Linked DNA regions of Homo sapiens: region 2 is linked to region 1. Evidence: promoter capture Hi-C in 16 types of primary human blood cells and fetal thymus (Javierre and others, 2016). All regions are on one chromosome and are shown on one strand. Each heading gives the region's core, a stretch centred on a gene start or on the middle of the fragment in contact. The rest is flanking DNA. Distances are from core to core; before and after follow the strand shown.

The links. Contacts are between HindIII fragments. The CHiCAGO score rates a contact against its expected background, and 5 or more counts as called.
Region 2: a contact is called between a fragment that was not itself captured here and the fragment with the promoter of NIM1K in region 1, in 1 of 17 cell types (monocytes). The highest score is 5.6, in monocytes.

Annotation. Positions count from the first base shown.
Region 1 is chr5:43,188,626-43,196,090 of GRCh38, reverse strand. NIM1K (NIM1 serine/threonine protein kinase) reads right to left here and starts at 3,866. Exons shown (of 4, transcript NM_153361.4): 1 at 3,680-3,866. RefSeq lists an enhancer at 2,841-3,550 and a silencer at 3,886-4,025. The HindIII fragment of the contact is 11,127 bases long and covers 1-7,465 here.
Region 2 is chr5:41,896,164-41,903,628 of GRCh38, reverse strand. No RefSeq gene overlaps it. Among named protein-coding and RNA genes, the nearest start is that of RIMOC1, 4.4 kb to the left of the region's middle. The HindIII fragment of the contact is 3,618 bases long and covers 3,076-6,693 here.

The DNA.
Region 1 (7,465 bases), core at 2,617-5,116:
ACTTGGATGGGTGGCAGGGAGTCAGAATGAACTAAGATCTGCCGCTAAGGCCTCCCAAGTCACACGATTTTGCTAAATAGGGTACTGACTGCTTTCTGGAAAACCATCAGTGTTCTCTGTGGAAGATGAAGAGTGGAGTTCTTCTTAGTTTCCTATTCTGCAACTTCGTTTTCCTTCTGTGCAACCCTCTTTTCACTTGATGTTTTCGCTTTTACTTTCTTTCTATTAATCTGCTTTCTCCTTACAGTTTTTTCCCCTTAACAGTTTTATTTTGCTCTCTAATCTTAAATTCTTCCCGCTATCCATGCCCTGAATTTCTCTTAAGTCTTGGCTAATGCTCATATTCATAATGCTCATGTCAGACAATTTAGATTTTTGTCTCGATTTTCCAAGTGGTTAGCTGAAATCACTTTTTTTTTTTTTTTTTTTGGATTCAGAGTCTTTCTGTGTCTCCCAGGATGGAATGCAGTGGCATAATCACAGCTCACTGCAGCCTTGAACCTCCCAGGCTCAAGCAATCCTCCTCCCTCAGTCTCCCCAGTAGCTGGGACTACAGGCATGCACCACCACACCCAGCTAATTTTTAAAAAATTTTTATAGAGACAAGGTCTCACCATGTTGCCCAGGCTGGTCTCGAACTCCTGGGCTCAAGCAGTCCTTCTGCTTCAGCCTCCCAAAGTATTGGGATTACAGGCCTGAGCCACGGCACCGACCTATCACTTGGCTTTTGAACACAACTTGTCCATCTGTAAAACTGATTAATATTCCTCAGGATGCTGTATAATAATGGCTAAGCTAACCTTGAAGTTCTTGAGAGAAAGTAATTTAAGAACTATGATGTGGTTAATTCAAGTTGTAGACTATTATCTTCATAAGCAATTTGAATATTTTCTTCTTCTCCTGAAAATTAAAACTTCAATTCTAGAGACCTTTTTCTAGAATGACAATAGGAAATGACAAAATACAAAATGAAACAAATTTTATGAACAGTTTGTCCTTTCAACAAGTGAAAGAAAATCAACCAATGAATTAAAACTCTTTAATCCCTAGAGAAATACAGTGATCAGATTCAAAGAATGAAGTTGGATTTAATGTTATATTTTAATTTTTAAGTTTCTCAAAATGAAACTATATATGTGACAAAAACATTAACCTACTAAGACAAAAATCTTTGCTTTTGTTTTTTTAAAAATGTATGATAAGTCTGTCATGCACCTGTAGTCCCAGCTCCTCAGGAGGCTGAGGCAGGAAGATCCCTTGAGCCCAGGAGTTTGAGACATGCCTGGGCAACATGGCGAGACCCAGTCTCTAAAAACGAAAAGAAAATAAAACAAAACTGTAAGTCTGAGGGCTTCAAGCTGTCTAATCACATGCTATCAATGTTAGAATTTGAAGCTCAGAAATCGTGGATGTGTAATGAATTACGGTTCTTTAAAGAAACCAACATTTGCTGATAAAAGTATTTGAAATGGTACCACTGCTTGCCCCAAATTAAACCTTTTCAACTAAAAACCTAGGGTTAAACCAAGAATATAAAGGGCTCTATAACCTATCTGTAGTTATTACTGGGGAATTCAGATTTCATATAAACCTGTCTTTATTTTAAATGTAGTTAGAAAAAAAGCACACACCTCAAACCAAATATCCAATCCACATTTTTTCCTAACACAGAAGGAGGCTTCTCTGAAGGTTTTTCCAGGCTTACCATTTAACAGTGGTCCAGCTAAAAATAAACCCATGAGGGTTTACTAGGCAAATTCAATGGCACACCAAACACCAGTCCATGGGGAGTTGGATTCAGCTTTTTCCCCACTAGCCTCTCGCAGGAATCCCCCCCTACATTCTCCCATCTCCTAATTAGAAAGCTAATTAGGCTTCCAAATGTAAATGCTAAATGGCGAGGGCGATCTGGGCTCAGGCCAGGATTCGTGGAACATCTAACACCCTCCTCTGTCCTCTGTTCGTGCAGTGAGCTGTGGGAAGAGAGCTGGGCAGCATGACTATTTGGGGCCATTTAACTTGCTGGAGGGCAGTGTTTACTCTCATTTGTCTGAGCGGAAAGCTGTGTTGCATGGACTGCAAACTCTGAAAAAATAAAATAAAAAAAACAACAACATGCCTTGGGATTTTAGTACTTTAAGGGAAAAAGTAAGTACATTTTCATAAACTCAATTATTACCATGGTGACAACGAGGGTACAAGAGAAGGTCCTCTGGAGAACAGTTCCTGCTTCTAACTAGACAGCCTCTCAATAGAGCAGGGCGACTTCTTCAGTAACCATGACAACCAGAATTAGAAGTGCTGTTGCAACACTAACAGAAACCATCTTTTGAAGCGGTTCTGTGAATCACATTGAATACTGATGATGCAAGCTAGTGTGATACATACTTTTCAAACATTAAAAAAAATCTTATTACCATAAACAAATATTCACCTTAGATTTCCATTTGAAATCTTGACTTGGAATCACTTTTTTTCATCTGGTTTCGTTTGTTTCCCTTTTGGATTCCCGCGGCCTCAATTGCAAACGCGATTTGTGTAATTTCCAAACTTGTCAGAACTGCACGGGTAAGAGCTTAGAATGTGATTCATTCGCTCTTATTTTGAAACGGGATGAGGAATGGGGTGGGGGAGGGGGGGTAGACAGAGAGCCCTCTTGTCTACTGTACTCAGGAGGACGAAAACAGGGGAGGGAAGGGGAAAAGAGAGGAGAAAGGGAGAAAGGGAGGGAGGGAGGAGGAGAAGAGAAGGGGAGAGGAGGAGGAGGAAAGGAGGGAGGGAGAAGAGGGAAAAGGAGGGAAGGAGGGAAGGAAAAAACAGAAAGGAAAGAAGTGCTATAGCAGAATCTTTGCTGCCCATGTTATCTATTGCCTTGACTTCTCCATCTGCCAAGATGTGTCAAGCACGCAGAAGCTGGCTGGAATCGATATTTTAAAGACCCGGTTGCGATCTTTTCCTGGTCGTATCAAGGAGTCCTGGAGCTTCTAATATTCCTGGAGGGATATCCAGGAAGAGGAAAAGAGGCTCTTCCTTACTTCGTGCGGTCTTCCAAAAGAAGCACCTTTCGCTGGGGAGAGTCGCGGCGTGGGGTGCAATGGAAGGTTTTGTTCTCCTGGGCCACATGCGTTAGATGTCAGTTCTCTCCACCAGCAGCACCGGCCGGCGCGCGTGGGGAGATCACGCCGGTCTTCTGCCCTTGTAACAAACGCTCCAGATTTGGTCTGGTGCCTTAGGGCTCTGGTCCAGCGCACCCGCTGTGCGCAACGCTAGGCGCTAAGCTGCGCTCCTCGGCTCACGTGTGGACGCGCACGCAGACACGAGTGTCCACACCATACAGAGACATGGGTGCACACACGCGCGCACATAGACATGGGCGCCGCACATGACACGGGCACCACACATGACACGGGCACACACGCGCGAGCACGCTCTCGCCCTGGCTCTAATGCCCCCTCCTCTCGCTTGCGGATCGGCCTGGGCAGGTGTGGGGGTACGCCCCAGAAAGCGCCTAACCTTCTTCTGACCCCACTTCGCAGACACCCCGTGGCAGGGCTTCCTTTCTTCCTTGGGTCGCGGGGAGGAGAGGCGCCTCCTCCTCAGCCACCCAGGTCTGCAGCCTAGCAGAGGAAGGGTGGCGGGGTGGGGGTGCTGGCGGCGAGTCCCCCAGCCCCTCGCTTACCTTCGTGGCGAGGCCAGCTCTTGGGCTTCGCTGCACGGCGCCAGGCTAGGCGCGCTGGGTTGTTGCCTCTGGAGCAGGAGCGGTCGGTGTGTGGATGTCCCGAGGTGAGGGCGCCGCTGTCGCGCTTGAGGCTCCCGGAGCTGTCAGGGGCGGCCGACCTGACCGGCAGCGGCCCAGGGCAAACCCCGCCCTCCGGCCTAGGCCGGCTCCGCAGCGGGGACCGAGACGCCCCACAGCGTTTCCTGAAGGACCAATCCGGAGCGAGGGGCTGGCGTGGGGAAGGAGGGACGGGGGGCCTGTAGTGCACCCGGACGCCGGCCTGGACCTTGTAAGCTGGTTTCTATGGCAGCCAGGAGGGAGGGGCGAGAGGGAGGGGACGCGCGGCGCAGGGACACCCAGTGCAGTCGCTCGGGGAGGGGGGTGATTGGGCCTGACGCAAAGAGGACCCCTTCTAGAGTCTGGATGGGAGCAGCTACACGGCCGAAAGCGGGCTGACACAGCTCCCACCGACGTACGCCTCGTGCCGAGCGGTTCCAGCGCTTCAGCAAGGGTTTCCATGTCCTTGGGAAACCGTGACCCAGTAATCCTCCCAACAGAAAGGGGGTTTCCAGCAAACCACCGTGACAGCTCCTCCGGGTGAGTCGGGCAGGGTTTAGGTTCTGCAGAAAGAAGTGCTAATGTCACCCTCTGTCTGGATTCCTGGCATACATCGGTTCCCCTGGTGCCACTTTGTCACTGGCTCCCTAATCTCCTGCTAGGGAGATACTCTCGGCTGTGACCCTCAGATGCCAAAGATTATTTTTCTAGTTTATAAACTAGAAATACCGTCACTGGATTGAACGTAGAGTTGGAAATGGGATTCGCAAAATACTAAATAAAACATACCGGTTATTTACTGAAGTTTAAGCCCTTCCTTTTACAGAGAGAGAAAAAAAAAACTGAGTTCAGAGGGGTCAGTTAACTTAGCAAGGGTCACACAACTGATTAATGGCAGAGCCAGGACTAGACACCCTAAGTCATAGTTCTGCGAGCATTCTTTCTACTTCCTCCTGCTCTCCATCCTGTATTGATTGCCAGAGCAATATTTACAAGAGCAAAACTGTTAAGTAGCAACATAACCCATGTCTACAATTCTTTTATGGTAGAAACTAGGGAACCCCAAAATTCCTTTTTTGCTATTTGCCAGGCATTGTAATAAACTCTTTTACAAAGAGTAACTGATTAAATCCTCATGATAATCTATGGGTTAGGTACTGTTACTGTCATCCTTGTTTTGATAGATGAAGAAACTGAAGCCCAGAGAGGTTACAGGATTTGATCGAGATCACACAACTGTTGAATGCTGGCTCTGGGACTCTAACCCAGTTTGTTTGACTCCAGAGTTGGTGTTCTTCATTACTTTGTCTCTGCTGCCTGTTTGTGTGATGATTAAAGGGGTCAGGAACGGGAAGGGCAAGAAATAAAAACCTTGGACAGCTCCGTGCACTGACGGTTGAGATTGGAAAGAAAATTGAAAGAACCTGAAACAACTGCTTCCTTGGCTTCTGAGAGTGGTCATCTATTTATGTAGAACAAGGGTTCTCTCGAGAAAATTTGTTTTTAAAGAGACATCCCCTCCTCAAAAGACAAGAGGTTTGTTGTTTTTTTTTTTTAAGAGTAATCTTTAAAATAGTACATGCCATCAGTCTATTTTCTTTCTAATGCAATAAAATGCAGGGAGAAACTCTACATATTTTTAAAGATATAAAAGACCCTTGAATTCAAATAAACAGAATAAAATTTCATAGAGAAATTGCCTAGAAACCAAGAGCCTCAAACACCCAATCTGACAGAGGCTCTCTGTGACATAGATCCTCACCATCACACCCCAAAGAGCATGCACAAGGCAGAGGTGATGATAGGTTCTAGTAGCTTAAAAGGTTACTGAACACTTTAGGCTAATACCATCACATTGGGAGTTAAGATTTCAATATATGAATTGGGAGATACAAAAATTTAGTCCATAACAGAACCCTTCCCAACTTTTATCTTTCTTTCAGGAATCTCTATTTTATACTATGTGTGTCAGACCTTCTCATTCTATTTCATGTCTTTTCTCAGATTCTCTAGATTTTTAACATTTTGTGCTACATTCTAGGTAATTTCTTCAGATCTACCTTCTGTTCATGAATTTTCTCTTGCACTAACCTGCACACTGACTTTATGATAATGCAAATATAATTAAATCAAGAGGTTTGAGAGTGCCGATTTCAGTATCTTTCACAGCAGGGGTGAATTGATAGCTTAAAATTGAATCACTTATTTACAACAACTAGTATTATTAAAATCCCTTTTTTCTTAACTTTATAGGAAACTTGTAAGAACTAATATTTCTTGTAAAAAACCTTTTTCTGAGGTTTAGCAATTTTTTCTGCTTTCCTTCTTATTTCCGTTAAATCCAATAAAAATTAAACTGAAAGGCCGGGCACGGTGGCTCACGCCTGTAATCCCAGCACTTTGGGAGGCCGAGGCGGGTGGATCACGAGGTCAGGAGATGGAGACCATCCGGGCTAACACGGTGAAACCCCGTCTCTACTAAAAATACAAAAAAAATTAGCCGGGCGTGGTGGCAGGTGCCTGTAGTCCAGCAACTCGGGAGGCTGAGGCAGGAGAATGGCGTGAACCCGGGAGGCGGAGCTTGCAGTGAGCCGAGATCGCGCCACTGCACTCCAGCCTGGGAGGCAGAGCGAGACTCTGTCTCCAAAAAAAAAAAAAAAAAAAAAAAAAAAAAAAAATTAAACTGAAAGAATTAAAACTAGCAATGGTGACCCTGTTTTTATTTTTCTTTATTTTATTTATTTATATATATATATTTTTTGACGTAGAGTCTCACTCTGTCGCCCTGGCTGGAGTGCAGTGGCGTGATCTCGGCTTACTGTAACCTCTGCCTCCCAGGTTCAAGATATTCTCCTATCTCAGCCTCCCGAATAGCTAGGACTACAGGTGCATGCCACCACGCCCAGCTACTTTGTTCGTTTGTTTTTGTTTTTGTTTTGTTTTGTTTTTGAGACGGAGTCTTGCTCAGTTGCCCAGGCTGGAGTGCAGTGGCGCGATCTCGGCTCCCTGCAAGCTCCGCCTCCCGGGTTCACGCCATTCTCCTGCCTCAGCCTCCTGAGTAGCTGGAACTACAGGTGCCCGCCACCACGCCTGGCTAATTTTTTGTATTTTTAGTAGAGACGGGGTTTCACCGTGGTCTTGATCTCCTGACCTCGAGATCCGCCCACCTCGGCCTCCCAAAGTGCTGGGATTACAGGTGTAAACCACCAAACCCGGCCTAATTTTTGTATTTTCAGTGGAGACGGGGTTTCACCGTGTTAGCCAGGATGGTCTCCATCTCCTGACCTCGTGATCCACCTGCCTCAGCCTCCCAAAGTGCTGGGATTACAGGCGTGAGCCGCCGCGCCCAGCCCTTTTTTTTTTTTAAATACTTTAAGTGCTAGGGTACATGTGCATAACATGCAGGTTTGTTACATATGTATACATGTGCCATGTTGGTGTGCTGCACCCATTAACTCGTCATTTACATTAGGTATATCTCCTGATGCTATCCCTCCCCCCTCCCCCCACCCCACTACAGGCCCGGGTGTGTGATGTTCCCCACCCTGTGTCCAGGTGTTCTCATTCTTCAATTCCCACCTATGAGTGAGAACATTCAGTGTTTGGTTTTCTGTCCTTGCCATAGTTTGCTCAGAATGATGGTTTCCAGCTTCATCCATGTCCCTACAAAGGACATGAACTAATTCTTTT
Region 2 (7,465 bases), core at 3,635-6,134, 1.3 Mb after region 1:
GCGGCCACAAAACTATTTTCATTTTTCTTTCATCTCAAGACCTTCCCTTAAGGCGCTAATTGTGCATGAGGTTCATCCTCTCAATCGGGAGTTTCAAAGCACTCAGTCAGCAAGTCTAACTTCACTTTGCATTCTGTGAATGCTTTCTTGCCTCTGGTCAAACAAATCGTTAACTCTGTGTATTCATTTCTCAGTTTGACACACTATATCTTGAATAATCTCCATCCTATTGTTTCTCATGGAAGGTAGTTTTTTATATGTAATAGAAAAATACTAAAAATAGAGAAAAAGTGTATTGTGATTTATAAGTGATTGACCACAATGACTCTCTAACTGACCTTTGTAATACCAGTTTCTTCTGACAATTCACCCTAAATATAGAGGACAGGAATCATGTATTTTGTGTCCTTGGTGCCTCATACAGTGCCTGGCACATATGCACTCTTGTCAACAAGCAAGATGGCAAGGGGATATGATGTGGTCTGTGGGAGTAGACAATTATTCAATAGTGTGGGAATTGTAGGTGAGGAAAAAAAGAATCTAAGTATAAACAAGAAGTTGAGAGAAGGCTTTCTCAACAAGGGATGGAGAAGGTGGTAGTTGAAGAGGGGCAAGTGCTGGAAGGTAGGGTGGAGAATGATCGTATCTGTACACAAAGGGGGAAAAATAGGGAAATAGGGATAAATTCAAAATGAAAGTAGGGAGCCAGCAATGGATAGAGAAAAGAGCAGAAGGTTACACCTGATGCCTTCTGAATCTTCTACAAGATGTAGAACTAAATGAAGCCTTCAGAAGATTTTACTAAACTTTTCAAAAAATAATTTTCAAAAAATAATTAACCTTTGATTAGGAATTTTCAGTCTCCTAGAAAATGTGTAATTTACCATTCTTAAACTACTTAAAAGAATTACCTGGACATGTGGGCAACAGACAAAGGCACAGCTGAAATATTTTGACTGTGGATCTACAAATTATCTCTGCAGAAGTGTTTTACTCTCAGGTCCACTGTTCTTCTCAGGCTTTTATAAAAGACATCTTAGGATCTATGTAATCAGGTCATCCATTTTCTAGCCATGAGATTTGGGTCTGGGAGATCTTGCTCATGATTTCGAAGTGATCTTGGATCGCCATTTGAATCAAGGGTTCCTTTTTAAAATAAACATTTAGAGTCAAATATTCAAAAGGCCCTTTTATTACAACCACAGCTTTATCTGTTCCCTCTCCATAAATGTGGCTATTGAAAACATTTTAGGCCAGGTATAATGGCTCATGCCTGTAATCCCAGCACTTTGGGAGATGTAGGCAGGCAGATCACCTGAGGTCAGGGGTTCAAAACCAGCCTGGCCAACATAGTGAAACCCCTTCTCTACTAAAAATACAAAAAAATTAGCCAGGCATGGTGGCACATGACTGCAGTGACAGCTGCTCAGGAGGCTGAGGCAGGAGAATTGCTTGAACCCAGGAGGTGGCCATTTCAGTGAACCGAGATCGCACCACTGCACTCCTGTCTGGGTTACAGAGAGAGACTCTGTCCCAAAACATAAATAAATAAAAATAAAAAATAAAAACATTTTAGTGGAGTGTGTTTCCAATACTTCAAAGTCTTTTTCTTGTTTTCCTTTATGTTCTCTTTCCCTAGTTAATGTCGTGGTCAAATGTAGAAACTTCATGTTTGTTAATGCATTTTATTTAGTTCAAAGTTTAAGTGAACTGTAAAATATTGAAACATAATAAAATCACCCTTACCCCCATAACTTCTTCCTTGCCATCTTTGCTCAATCTCTCCAGACTCTGCTACATTTCTTCTGGCTCTATCAGGCTAAGCCAGTCTTGTCTGTTTGAACTACCAAGGAGCACTGAGTCCTGACGTTAAGACTCTTTCATATTTACCAGGCTCCTAATAAAGTATTTCTCTCTAGCTATGAGTGTGATTCTAATTTTTAGCCCTCTATGGTAAACACCAAGCTTTGTGACAAAAATGATACAAAAGGAGACACAACAAACAAATATCATGAATATATTTGCAAAAATCCTAACTAGAATATACTCAATTTAAAAGATGGGTAGGCCGGGCGCGGTGGCTCACGCCTGTAATCCCAGCACTTTGGGAGGCCGAGGCGGGCGGATCACGAGGTCAGGAGATCGAGACCATCCCGGCTAAAACGGTGAAACCCCGTCTCTACTAAAAATACAAAAAAATTAGCCGGGCGTAGTGGCGGGCGCCTGTAGTCCCAGCTACTTGGGAGGCTGAGGCAGGAGAATGGCGTGAACCCGGGAGGCGGAGCTTGCAGTGAGCCGAGATCCCGCCACTGCACTCCAGCCTGGGTGATAGAACGAGACTCCGTCTCAAAAAAAAAAAAAAAAAAAAAAAAAAAGATGGGTAATACCCAAAATCTTAAGCACTCAGTCTCATACACTGTTGTTAGGAATATACTTTTATACAAACTACTGAAGGATGAATTATGTATTAAAGCCTTTAAAAATAACTGATCCAGTTATTTATCCTAAGACAACAGCTGGAGAAGTGTGTAAAGCTCAATAAAACAAGGAGGTTCACCACAATTTTGTTCATAATTGTGAACATTTGGAAATAACACAGATATCTGTCAGAGGAGATTGATTCAATAAGTTTTGGTATATTTATGCAGCAGGATATGCTGTAGGCATTAAAAATTATGTTTTATCTCCATATCTATTGACAGATTAAGATTATCATAATTTCTTATTAAATAAAAATAAGTATAACAGTACACAGAGTAGAGCTTTAGTTTTGGTTTATATTTTTCTTTTTGTTTTTGTTGAGACAGAGTCTCACTCTGTCACCCAAGATGGAGTGCACTGGAGTGATCTTGGCTCTGCCTCCCAGGTCCAAGTGATCCCCCCACCTCAGCTCCTAAATTGTTGAGACTACAGGTGCATGCCACAATGCCTGGCTAAGTTTTGTGTTTTTTTGTAAATATGGGGTTTCGACATGTTGCCCAGGCTGGTCTCAAACTCCTGAGCTCAAGAGTTCCACCTGCCTCAGCCTACAAAAGTGTTGGGATTACAGGTGTGAGCCACGGTGCCAGACAAGCTTGTTTTAATCTGGGTTTATGAATCCAAAATTTGAGAGAATATTAATTATGAATAATAAACTCATACAATGGGTGCACATATAGATGACTTTTAATTTTTTAATTTTCTTTTATTTTTTACAAATGCTACACTAAGCATAAGTTAAAGTAGAACTTTTCTCCCTTCCCCCATGTTTCCATATGGAGAGACCACCATGAGAGTAATTGCGGTGGTTGAATGGTGGCCTCCAAAAAGATATGTCCATGTCGTAAACCCCAGAACCTGTGGATGTGGCCTTATATAGGAAAAGGGTCTTTGCAGATGTAACTAATTTAATTATCTTGAAATAAGATCATCCTGGATTATCTAGGTGAGTCCTAAATCCAATGGCAAATATCTTTAGAAGGGACAGAAGAGAAGACACAGATATAAGATGGAGGCAATGATTAGAGTGATGCACCAAGGAATACCACAGATTGATGACAGCCACTGGCAGGTAGGGGAGGGGAATGAAGGGATACTCCCTAGAGCCACACTCAATCAGATGACCTATTTCTTCCTTGGGGAAAAATGAGAAAGAGAAGGTGATGAGGCCAACAGAGGTAGTTTCTTGTGGCTGCTGTAAGAAAAAAAAAATACCACAAACTATGTTGCTTAAAAACAACAGAAATTTATTTGCTCACAGCTCTGGCAGTAAGAAATCTGAAATCAAAGTGGCAGCTAAGTCAAAAGAATATTTGAAGAAATAATAGCATAAATGGTTTCCTAGCTATGACACCAAGAAAAAAAAAGCAGCAACAAAAGAAAACATAGATAAATTAAACTTACTAAAAATTAAGAACTTCAGTGCTTCAAAGGACACTATCAAGAAAGTAAAAAGACAACTTGCAGAATAGGAGAAAATATTTGCAAAGCATATACATGATAAGAGACTAGTATCCAGAATATGCAAGGAATTCCTACAATGAAATAGTAGAAATATAATAATCCAATTAAAAACATGCAGAGGATTTGAATAAGTAGTTCTCCATTGAAAAAAAAAAATAGCCAATTTGCACATGGAACGACGTTTAACATCATTAGGCGTTAGGGAAATGCAAATCAAGACCACAATAAGATACCACTTCATATCCACTAGGATGGCTATAATAAAAAACTCAGGTAAAAAAACACGTTGACAACAATGTGGAGAAATTGGAACTCTAATACACTGCTGGTGGGGTAAAATGGTGCAGCCATTTTGAAAAACAGCTGGAAGTTCCTCAAAACGTTAGTTATAGAGTAATCATATGACCCAGTGCAATGGGTTGAATGTTTATGTGCCCCCACTGGCCCTGAAGCAGATTCATATGTTGAAATCCTAATCCCCAAGATGATAGTGTTAAGAAGTGTGGCATTTGGAGGTGACTAGGTCACCAGGGTGGAGCCCCCATGAATAGGATTATAAAAGAGGCCTCAGAGAGATCTCTCAAACTCTCCACTATGTGAGGACACAGATAAAAGACGATTGTCTAATAAGAGGGCCCTAACCAGACATGGAATCTGCCAATGCCTTGATCTTAGGCTTTCCAGCCTCCAAAACTGTGAGAAACAAATTTCTGGGCTTTTTGTAAACCACCCAGTTTATTGTATTTTGTTATAGCAACCCAGACTCAGACATGCAGCAATTCCATTCCTAGCTATATACTGAAGAGATATTCAAATATATAGCTACACAAAAATTTTTACACAAATGTTCATGGCAGTATTATTCATAATAGCCAAAAGTTGGAAACAACCTCAATGTCAATGAACTGAGAAGCAAAATGTGATATAACCATACAATAAAATATTATTGTTATACAAATGAAGTACTGACACATGCTAGAATCTAAATATTAAATACATTATGGTATGTGAAAAAGCCATACACAAGAGACCATGTCATATGATTCCATTTATATTAGATGCCCATGATATGCAAATTCCATAGAGACAGAGAGTAGATTAATGCTTGCTCTGCGTTAAGGTAGATGGGGTATACGAAGATGATGGCTAAAGGACACAGGGTTTTTTTGAGGAGAGGGTAAGATATTCTGAAATTGTGGTGATGTCAGATGCCTCATGAGGATGTGAAAAATTAAAAAATAATAAAAAATAAAATAAAATTGTGATTGTTGCAATATATGTGAATATCCTAAAACCATTGAAATGTATACTTTAAATGAATGAGTTATATGGGATGTGAATTATATCTCAATAAAGCTGTTAAAAAATGTGTCCCATACTGGGCATCTGAAACTTCATCCATAGCAATTCCTATGCACAAATTCAAAGGTTGTAGCTCCAATATAACTGTATGTAATTCCTAAAATAATCCAGTTGTCAATAGTGGAATAACCATGTATAAATGCCAACCCATTTAAGATTAATTACTCTGAAACTAATTTGTCAAGCACAGAACAGGCATATACTTTAGACAGATATCTAGTAATTTTTTTAATGGAGGATTACTGTTTTAAAAAATAGGATATACTGCATTTGATTAGATGGGAACCTACTGGCAGCAAGGAAAAAAGTTAAATTGAAAAAGTTGATAGGGGACACATTATAGAGCCGATGTGATGCCATGATAAAGAGTTTGTACTCTCAGCTGTAGACAGTGGAGAGACTGGAATGGCTTTCAGTAGGATAATGACAAGGTTAGATGTCTGAAAGATACACTGGTGGTAAGGAAGATGAACTAGTAGGTTTAAGTCTAAAGAGAGGGAGACCAGTGGGGAGGCTTTTAAAGTAATCCGGGAGAGAGAGGATGATGGCCTAAACAAGGATAGTATCAGCATAGGAGGGCAAGAGGGACATGATAAAATAAATATTATTAAGAGGTAAAATCAGTAGGAATTGGCCATTAATTTAGCACAAAGTTAAAGCCCAAGAACACTGCTTTGTGCCTATTAACAAGAAAACTCCATCACCTACTTTCTAAATTCTTAATCTGTTGAAGTCAAAGTTCTCTCCATTCCATTGCACAATGTTGATCATATTAACTTTGGAGATTTAAAGACAGCATTAATGTAGTTTGGCCATGCACAACATTTATAAATTTTAGTTTGTATCTTCAATTAATTGATAAAAATAAAGAGGTCATGTAATACAATATCAGAGAACTGCCTGAATTAAATACTCTTTCTTGTATTCAAACTAGAAAGTTTCCTCCTTTTACTTTATTGGCTTTAATAATATAATTGTCTCCGGCTTAAAACAATTTATGAATGGGCATGGTGGCTTCTGCCTGTAATCCCAGCATTTTGGCAGGACGAGGTGAGATAATTGCTCGAGCCCTAGAGTTCTAGACCAGCCTGGGCAACATAGCAAGAATTTGTCAAAACAGAAAATTAAAAAATTAGCCAGTGTGGTGGCACATGCCTGTAGACCTAGCTACCTGGGAAGCTAAGGTGGTAGGATTGCTTGATCCCAGAAGTTTGAGGCTGCAGTGAGCTAAGATGGTACCACTGCACCTTAGCCTACACATAGAGTGAGACCTTGTCTCAAAAACAACAACAGCAACAAAAAACACAACTTATGCCCAGGTTAAATCCTTTGAAGTCTGTCAATTATAAGCATATTTCTTAGCCCTACAGCCTTCATACAGTGGAAGCTTTACAGTCTCCAACCTGCTTTCATGCCTTCATCTCCTTACTATCCTGAACTCCCTCTCCCAAGATTCTTTCCAACAACCACCCTCCTCCCACCTTTCACTCTACTTCCTGTAACTTTTGCTCCAACATTACAAGATGCCTCCATATTTTCAAAATTAGATGGAAATTTGGTCCAGCGAACACCTATTAATCCATGCTTTATCGGCTATGAGGTCAAGCTCCCTGACTACACTTCTGGATTCCTTGCTCATATCCAGTAAAGCCAGTGAATCTGGGGTTAAATTATTTATCTTTACCCTAAATCCTGCCATAATCCTAAGACAGTCCAATGTCCTTGTAGCCAGCAAGCCATGCTGTGGATCTCAGAAATCTTAAACTCTAGAGCCCAATCTCTGACTGCATCTTCTCTCATGATCTCATACCATAAGAGATCTTTCATCTAGAAAACCTTTTGGCAACATTTTCTCCCAATCTTTTTAACTCCCTTCTGGCCTCTGTTCCCTCTTTTTGTAGCTTGAGTCACATGATTGATCACTTAAGCCAAAACCCTCAGTTCCTTATCTTTTCAGCACTCTCAGTTCCATATCCTTTTAACCCGTAAAATCCAGCAAATCTTCAATCAATGTTTCTTTGCCCTGCCATTCAGGTGGTGAACTCTGCGGCACAACAGCCTCATTTGCACATAGATTGCTGCCACTGTAAATTGAGCTGGATCATTGATGCTGCCTAACAGTTCTCTTACTTGTCCCTAGTCAGTTTCTTCTGGTGCATTC